2 separate regions of the Homo sapiens genome follow, and region 2 is linked to region 1. The links are contacts of gene promoters, found by promoter capture Hi-C in blood cells and fetal thymus (Javierre and others, 2016). All regions are on one chromosome and are shown on one strand. The core of a region is centred on a gene start or on the middle of the fragment in contact, and the rest is flanking DNA. Distances in the headings are between cores, read along the strand shown. Region 1 holds the start of NXPE1 (neurexophilin and PC-esterase domain family member 1). Region 2 has its middle 41 kb from the start of NNMT.

Region 1 (4,471 bases), core at 1,014-3,513:
TATATTATATATAATACATATATATATATATATATATATATATATATATATATATAAAATCCTTGTTCATTTATATTTGTACATTTAGTTTCCTTCTTTTTCATTCTTCTTTGCCGTTCTCTACTGTCATTTGGGAGAATTTATCTTCTGCTTCAAGAACTATCTTTAATATTCTGTAAGACATCTTCTAGTGACAAATTCTCAAGGTTACATTTTAAAAAATCTTATTTTGCTTTCATTTTGAGGGTTTCTTTTGCGGGCTATACAATTCTAGATTGACAAGTGTTATTTATTTATTTTTGTTTTTGGTGGTTAAAAGCATCAGCACTTTGAATATGTTACCTCATTTTCCTTCTATTTCCCTAACTGCCCTTTGTTCCTCTCTTGCTTTCTCTCTAGAATCTAGATCTCTCAACCCCTCACTGCCCCAGTTGCTCTCTGACGCTTAACAGATCAAATATAACATCCTCTAGCTTTTCTAGTTGCTCTCAAAAGGAGACTATAAGCAAGTCTACTATTTTGGGAAACATAAATTTTATTTATAATTATAAATATAAACTATACACACATCTATGTATATGTGTTTATGTGTGTGTGTATATATATATCCATATATATGCACATTCTATATGTTTTTCTTTTTATTTCATTTTCCAAACAAATATCTGTGGCTGATGTGTAGAAATGCAAGTGCTTTATTTTAATAGTGCTTTTATATAGGCACACATAGAGAACAAAGATGATTAGAAGTGGCCATATTGGGTACGTTTGCCTTGTTTTCATAGTTAGTTTCAACATTTTACTATGTGTAATTAAATATATGATGTTGGATTTGTGATATTTGCTTTTCTTAATGCCTTCTATTAGATTGAGGAAGTTCTCTTTTAAGAAAGTTTGTGAAGTGTTTCTATTACTAATGGAAGTTGAGTTATTGACAAAGGCCTTTTCTGATTCATTGAGGTAATTATATGAATTTTTAAACTTTTATGTTTAAATGTGATGTATTACATTCGTATATTTTCTAAAGCTAAACAATCCTCCTGTTATGGACTTAAGCTGAACTAGGTCACAATATAGATTGGATCTTTATACATAACTCTGCTGTGCTATGTAAGAGTACAAATTAACATGATCGTTTTGAAAGCAGAATGGCAATATTTCTGTTAGTTTGTGTTTATCTATGCCCTATGTCCAAGCAATTCATTCTGGATACATCACAGAGGACTTCTCAGTCAGGTCCATAAAGAATCACATACAAAGTTTGTTTTCAGTTGATTATATGTATAGCTGTAATTGTAGGGAATTAAATAGACTTTAATATGTATTACTATGAAATGGTTAAGAAACATGTAGTGGATGTGTATTGTGGGATACTATCCAACAGTTAGATACAACTCACTAGATTTACCTGTAATATGAAGAGCTCTTAAAAACAGCTCTAAGTGAAGAAAGAAATAAACATAAATCTTTATCACATTTTTATGTAAATTAAAAATATACATACAAAGCACAATACATGGATACACACATACTCAAAGACAAAAATTAAAAAAGAATCCTTCCTGCTTTTCTGGCTTTGTTTATGACTCATCCTACTGCCCACCTGGGGTGGCCTGCCCCTGCACCAATCTAGACTCTATAGTCAGTGAATCCCCAGCTCAGGGGCAATCTCTACAGGAAACTTTCCAGCATAACTCTAGACCACAACGATCTCTCCCGTATTTTGAATTCCTGTGACATATTCATACATTTTCCACCCAAACAATGTCATACATAAAACAAGGCAAAGAAATATCAGTTGTAAACAGGTATTTTTGATGTCCTTCTTCCTCTCTCCAACTAGATGTTAGGTTGAGTGACTGTATCCATGCTTGCTTCCCACAAAGCACTGGGGACTTTTGCTGGTTGGTTATTAGAGAAATATTTTATCTTGATGCTGTCTCACCGTCAAAACCAGCCTATCCTTGTCAGTAAGAGAGGCTCTCACTATCAGTTTTTTTTTTTGTTTCCCACACTTTCTTCTGAGCTTTCTCCCTTTTCTTATCTTTCTCTGACTTGAGAGAACCCCTCAGCAGACACAGTCTTTCTAATTTCTTTTGCTTTGTTCTTCCCTGCCCTCCACTGACCACTGGCAAGATTAGAAATAGAGAAAGGCAGTCTCCATAGTTTTGCTTACTCACCTGTTTTAATGATCTCTCCTATCTGGGTGGCTGGAAAAGTACCTGTGAGTTCTTAACTGGCTCTTGTGGCTGTGTAAAATGTTTTTGTTCCTTGTCTGTGAACACATTTATTTTCATCAGTCTGTTTTCCTCGTAAATTGGCTTATCTTGGGGTGGAGATTTGAAGAGGCAATAAACAGTAGTACAATTAACTGACAATTAGATAATTCCACAGCCTCTGTTAACTGGGTGTTACTCGGGTATTCTTTGAGATTCCTTCTCTCTCCATGTTACTGGTGACCCTTGGGAATGGAAAACCTCTTAGTTCTGAAACAGCTGTGGTCCTTGAAGTCATAGTGTAAAAATACCCCAAGTGACTCTATGGATAGGCTTTCCTCAGAAAATCTGAAGTCTCACGACAACTCCAAACAAGAGAACAAATTGTCAGTGGACACCATGCAGAGAACTGGTGGGTGATTGAGAATTCTTTTTTTTTCTTTTTTTTTTTTTTTTGGACAAGGTTTTGCTCTGTTGCCCAGGCTGGAGTGCAGTGGCGTGATCATAGCTCACTGCAACCTCGAACTCCTGGGCCCAAGCCATCCTTCTGCCTTGGGCCTAGGGGCTACAGGTGCATGCTGCCACACCTGGCTAATATTTTTAATTTGTATTTTGTAGAGATGGGGTCTTACCATGTTGCCCAGGCTGGTCTTGAACTCCTGGGCTCAAGTGGTCTGTCTTCCTCGGCCACCCAAAGTGCTGGGATTACAGGCATGAGCCACTTTTCCCAGCTGGATCTTTTATCGGTTTGAAAAGGATATCTAATAAATGGGGAAGGACTATTTGCTCTGAGTTAGGGAAAGGGGATATGGTTCATTAACTCGTCATTATCATAAACATTATTTAATTCACCAATACAGTAAATGTTGCTGTAACTTCTGCTATGCCAAATGCCTGTAACATGAAAGGGAATATATGGGTGTATATGAATAATTAGGCCTATTAATCCTTCTTTCCCCTCTAACCCCTGGTCACCACTGGTTTTCTTACTGTCTCCATGGTTTTGACTTTTACAGAATGTCACATAGCTGCAATCATACAGTGTGTAGCTGTCCCAGATTGGCTTTTCTCTTAGCGATACGGATTTCAGTTTCTCTGTCTTTTTGTGGCTTGATAGCTTATTTCTTTAGTGCTGAATAATATTTTACTGACTACATATTGGAGACCTTTCTCTCATGCCTCATGCCCTTCCCTCTGGAACCTTCATATTTGTCATGTGACTGTTACTTCAGCTCTGTAACATAAATCTAACTTCATCTCTCTTTCTAAGCCTGGATGCCCAGACCCTGTGCCAATTTGTAAGATTTAGTTTTGAAGATCACAAGTATTATTAGTACTGTGCTAAGTACTCATAGGATTAAATGAATTAATACATGTACAACATTTAAAAACAGTTTCTGACACTTAGTTTAAGCACTAAATAATTAGCAACTACTACTATCACCACCCCAACTACTACTATTTATGCATGGGAGTAAATTTTGAGATTGGCTTTTTTCTCCCACTCAGCGTAACGTCCACGATGTCCATCCAAGTTATTGCATGTGTCAACAGTTCATATGAACATATTGCCTCACTCACAATTAGGCAATATTGTTTGTTACCTTGGTTTCTTTAACCAATATTGTTTCTAAAACCTACTCCTCACTACTCAATTTGTTTCTTATCTTGTAAAGTCTTTGGTAGCTCTTTCAGAGGGGACCAGTATTAGACTGAGTACATATTTTTTCTTCCTAAATAGATGATAAATTTACTTGCTATAGAATTAGGTGAAAAATATTTTTCTTCTTAGCCTTGAGGATACTGTTTCATTCTCTTCATGCATCCAATGTCATTTATGAAATGTCTGATGTCAAAGTTAGTATAATTGTGAATCTTTGTAGCATTTTTCTCTTCATCCTTGGTATTATGAAATTTTATGCAGATCTTTTTATCTTCATCATGTTTGGCGCTTTTAATGGCCCATTAGACCTGAGATCTAATATCTGTTAACTTTTCTTTCATAATTTTGATCACACTTTCCTTTTATTCTGTATTCTGCAAGAATTCTTGAGTTAACATTTTATTTCTCCAGTTTATTGTTTTCATTTTGAACTTTAGTGTGTCCCTCAAGTTTTTCTTTATTTCACGTATCATATTTTAAATTTAACAAATATCTAGTTAACTCTAAGTATGGCTGCAATATCCTCTCACATCAGTCTGGTAATTAAACACACTTATTCTAAATTCTTGTATCAACTGTCCTTTTAACTTTG
Region 2 (4,471 bases), core at 887-3,386, 220 kb before region 1:
TGACTTGCCTTGCAAGAAATGTTGAAAAAAATTATTTAGAGAGACTAAAAATTATAGGTCAGAAATTCAGCTCTACATCAATAAAGAAAAATACTGAAGAAGAAATAAATGAAAGTAAAATTTAAAATTATTTTTCATATTCTTAATTTATGTAACAAATAAGAGTTTATTCAAAATAAAATAGCAACAATGTATTTTATTACACATGCTTATGTATAAGTAAAATGAATGACAGAATGATACAAGGGGGGGGAATTAGGATCATTTTGTTATAATAAGCACTAACCAAGAAGCAGTATAATGTTTGGCGAAAATGGACTTGGATTAATTGTAAATGTATATTGCACACTCTAGGGCAACCACTAAAAAAAGTAAAAAGTATAACTGATATGATAAGAAAGGAGAGAAAATTGAATCATATAAAGTTGCTAAATTAAAATAACTAAAGGCAGAACAAGAGTGAAAGACAAAAATAGAAACGAAGAACAAGGGTAACAAAAACAGTAACAAATATGATAGATATTAACCCAATTATATCAATAATCACTTTGAATATGAGTGGTCTTAAGCACAACAATTAAAAGACAGAGAATGTTAGAATGGATCAAGAAACAAGACTCAGTTACAGGTTGTCTATAAGAAACCTCCTTTAAATATAAAGACTCATATCAATTGAAAGTAAATGGATGGAGAAAGGTATACTATGCTAAAACTAATCAAAAGAAAGTGGAAGAAACTAGAACAATTTCAGACACAGAACACTTCACAGCAAGTAAAGTTATTAGGGATAAAGAGGAGCATTGCCGAATGATAAAGGGGTCAGTTCTCTAAGAAGACATAGCAATCCTTAATGTGTGTGCACCTAATAACACAGCATCAAAATACATGAAGCAAAAACTGATAGAACTGTGAGGAGAAATAGATGAGTCCACTAGTATAGTGGGAGAGTTCAACATCCCTCTATCAGAAATGGACAGATTCAGCAGGCAGAAAATCATTAAGAACATAATCAAATTCAAAAACATCATCTATAAACTGTAAATAATGGACAGCTATAAACTAGTTCATCCAGCAATAGCAGAATTCACTGTACATTCTTCTCAAGCTCACATGGAATATTCATCAAGATAGACCACATTCTAGACCACTTCATATACCTTAACAAATGTAAAAAAAAAGTAGAAATCGTAGTGTCTGCTCTCAGACCACAATGGAATTAAACTAGAAATTTATAATAGAAGGATAGCTGAAAAATCCCCCAATACTTGGAGATACAAATACAACATGTGTCTAAATAATACAAGGGTCAAAGCAGAAATCTCAGGAGAAATTAAAAAGTACTTTGAACTAAATGAAAATAACACAAGTTATCAAAAACTGTGCAGTGCAATAAAAGTAGTGCTAAGGGGGAAATTGATAGCATGGAGTGCATATATTAGAAAATAGGAAAGATTTAAAAGAAATCACCTAAGCTTTCATCTTCGGAAACTGGAAAAACAAGAGCGAACTAAATCTATACTGAACAGAAGAAGAGAAACAATAAAAATTAGAGCAGAAATCAATGAAATTGAAACAGAAAATTAACAGAGAAAAATCAATAAAACCAAAAGCTGGTTCTTTGAAAAGATCAATAAAATTAATAAGCCCATAGCCAGGCTAACTTAGAAAAAAGAGAGAGAGGAAGAACATAAATTAGTAATATCAGAGATGAAAGAGGGGACATCATTACAAAAGTCATGTACATTAAAAGGATAATAAAGGAATACTGTGAACAACTTTATGCTTACAAATTTGATAACCTAGCTAAAATAGACCAATTTCTTGAAAGACGCAATCTGCCAAAACTCACATAAGAAGTAATACACACTGAATAAGGGTATATCTATTCAACTGAAAATGAATCAATAATTAATAGCCTCCTAAAGCAGAAAGCATCAGGTCAAAATGGGTTCGCTGGTGAATTCTACCAAACGTTTAAGGAAAAAAGCACACCGATTTTCTACAACCTCTTTCAAAGATAGAAGCACAAGGAATACTTCCTAACTCATTCTATGAAGTCAACATCACCTTCATACCAAAACCAGGCAAACACATTGGAAGAAAATAAATCCGCAGTTCAATATATCTTGGCTGGGTGCAGTGGCTCACGCCTGTAATCCCAGCACTTTGGGAGGCCGAAGCGGGAGGATCACCTGAGGTCAGGAGTTCGAGACCAGCCTGGCCAATATGGCAAAACCCTGTCTCTACTAAAAATACAAAAATTAGCCGGGTGTGGTGGTGCATGCCTGTGATCCCAGCTACTACTCAGGAGGCTGAGACAGGAGAATCGCTTGAACCTGGGAGGCAGAGATTGCAGTGAGCCAAGATCACGTCACTGTACTCCAGAGAGACTCTGTCTCCAAAAAAAAAAAAAAAAAATCCACAGTTCAGTATCTCTCATGAACATAGATGCAAAAATTCTCAACAAAATGTTAACAAATTGAATCCATCAAAGTATAAAAAGAATTGTGTGCCACACCAAGGGGGATTTATCCCAGGAATGAAAGGCTGTTTCAACATTTGACAACTAATTAAGGCTATCCATCATATCAACAGGCTAAAGAACAAAATACAGATGATTACATCAATAGATGTAGAAAAAACCTTTGACAAAATCTAACACTTGCTCATGATAAAAGAAAAAGAAAAAGAAAAAAAAAACTCCTCAGTAAATGAGAAATAGAGGGGGAACTTCCTCAACTTGATAAAGAATATCTACAAAAAATATACAGATAACGTCATATTTAATGGTGAGAAATTAGAAGCTTTCTCATTAAGATCAGGAACAAGGCAAACACATACTCTCTCACCACAGCTTTTCAACATTATGCTAGAAATCCTAGCTAATGCAATGAGATAAGTAAAGAAAATGTATACTGACTGAGAAGGAAGAAATAAAACTATCTTGTTCACAAAAGACATGATTGTCTAAAAGAAAATCTGAAAGAATCAGGCCAGGTGTGGTAGCTCACGCCTGTAATCCCAGCACTTTGGGAGGCCGAGGCGGGTGGATCACAAGGTCAGGAGTTCAAGGCCAGCCTTACCAACATGGTGAAACCCCATCTCTACTAAAAATACAAAAATTAGCCAGGTGTGGTGGCGTGTGCCTGTAATCCCAGCTACTCAAGAGGCTGAGGCAGGAGAATTGCTTGAACCCAGGAGGCGGAGGTTGCAGTGAGCCGAGATCACACCACTGCACTCCAGCCTGGACGACAGAGCGAGACTCCATCTCAAAATAAAAAAAGAAAGAAAATCTGAAAAATCAAGAAAAAAAGCTCCTGGAACTAATAAACAATTATAACAAGGTTTCAGGATGCAAGGTTAATATACAAAAGTCAATCATTTTTCTGCATAGCAACAATGAACAAGTGGAATTTGATATTAAAAAGAAATTGTCATTTATATTAACAGTGCCTCAAAATAAAATACTTGGGTATAAATCTAACAAAACCTGTACATGGTCTATATAAGGAAGGCCATAAAACTGATGAAAGAAACCAATGAAAAACTAAATAAATAGAGAAATATTCCATGTTCATAGATAGAAAAACTCAGTATTAGTCAAGATATTAGTTCTTCACAACTTGATCTATAGATTCAATGCAATCAAAATCAAAATCCTAGTAAGATATTTTGTGGCTATCAATAATCTGATTCCAATGTTTATATGAAGAGTCAAAAGACAGTCAATAACCACCACAAGATTGAAAGAAAAGAACAAAATTGGAGGACTGACATCAAGACTTATGATATTACTATAACTACCCTAAAGCCACAGTGATAAAGACGGTGTGGTATTGGTGAAAAAACTGGCAGAGGATCAATAGGATAGAATAGAAAGCCCAGAAATAGACCTACATAAACACAATCAACTAATCTTTGAAAAGGGGGCAAAGGCAATACAATGGAGACAAGATAGGCTTTACAATAAGTGGTGCTGGAACAACTGAACATTCACATGCAGAGAAGTGAATCTCGACACAGACTTTCCACCCATCACAAAAATTAATTCAAAATACCCCACAGACCAAAATATCAAACTGTAAAACTAGAAGATAACATAGGAGAAAATCTAGATGCCCTTGGGTTTGTCAATGACTTTTTAGATATAATACCGAAACCACAATACATGAAAAAAAGAACTGATATGCTGGACTTCTTTAAAATTAAAGATTTCTGCTCTGCCAAAGACACTGTCAAGAAAATGAAAAGACAAGCTGCAGACTGAGAGAGAGAGAAGATATTTGTTAAAAACACACCTGACAAAGGACTGGTACCCAAAATATGCAAAGAACTCTTGAAACTCAACAATAAGAAGACAGAGAACCCAATTAAAAAATGGGCCAAAGAACTTAACAAATACCTCCCCAAAGAAGACATGTAATGGCAAATAAACACATAAAAAGATGCCCCACATCATATGTCATCAGAG

Evidence for each region. Contacts are between HindIII fragments. The CHiCAGO score rates a contact against its expected background, and 5 or more counts as called.
Region 2: a contact is called between a fragment that was not itself captured here and the fragment with the promoter of NXPE1 in region 1, in 1 of 17 cell types (erythroblasts). The highest score is 5.0, in erythroblasts.

Annotation. Positions count from the first base shown.
Region 1 is chr11:114,557,618-114,562,088 of GRCh38, forward strand. It overlaps NXPE1 (neurexophilin and PC-esterase domain family member 1), which reads right to left and starts at 2,264. Exons shown (of 9, transcript NM_001395504.1): 1 at 2,181-2,264. It also overlaps a transcript of NXPE2 not described here. The HindIII fragment of the contact is 13,193 bases long and covers 1-4,471 here.
Region 2 is chr11:114,334,918-114,339,388 of GRCh38, forward strand. No RefSeq gene overlaps it. Among named protein-coding and RNA genes, the nearest start is that of NNMT, 41 kb to the left of the region's middle. The HindIII fragment of the contact is 1,332 bases long and covers 1,471-2,802 here.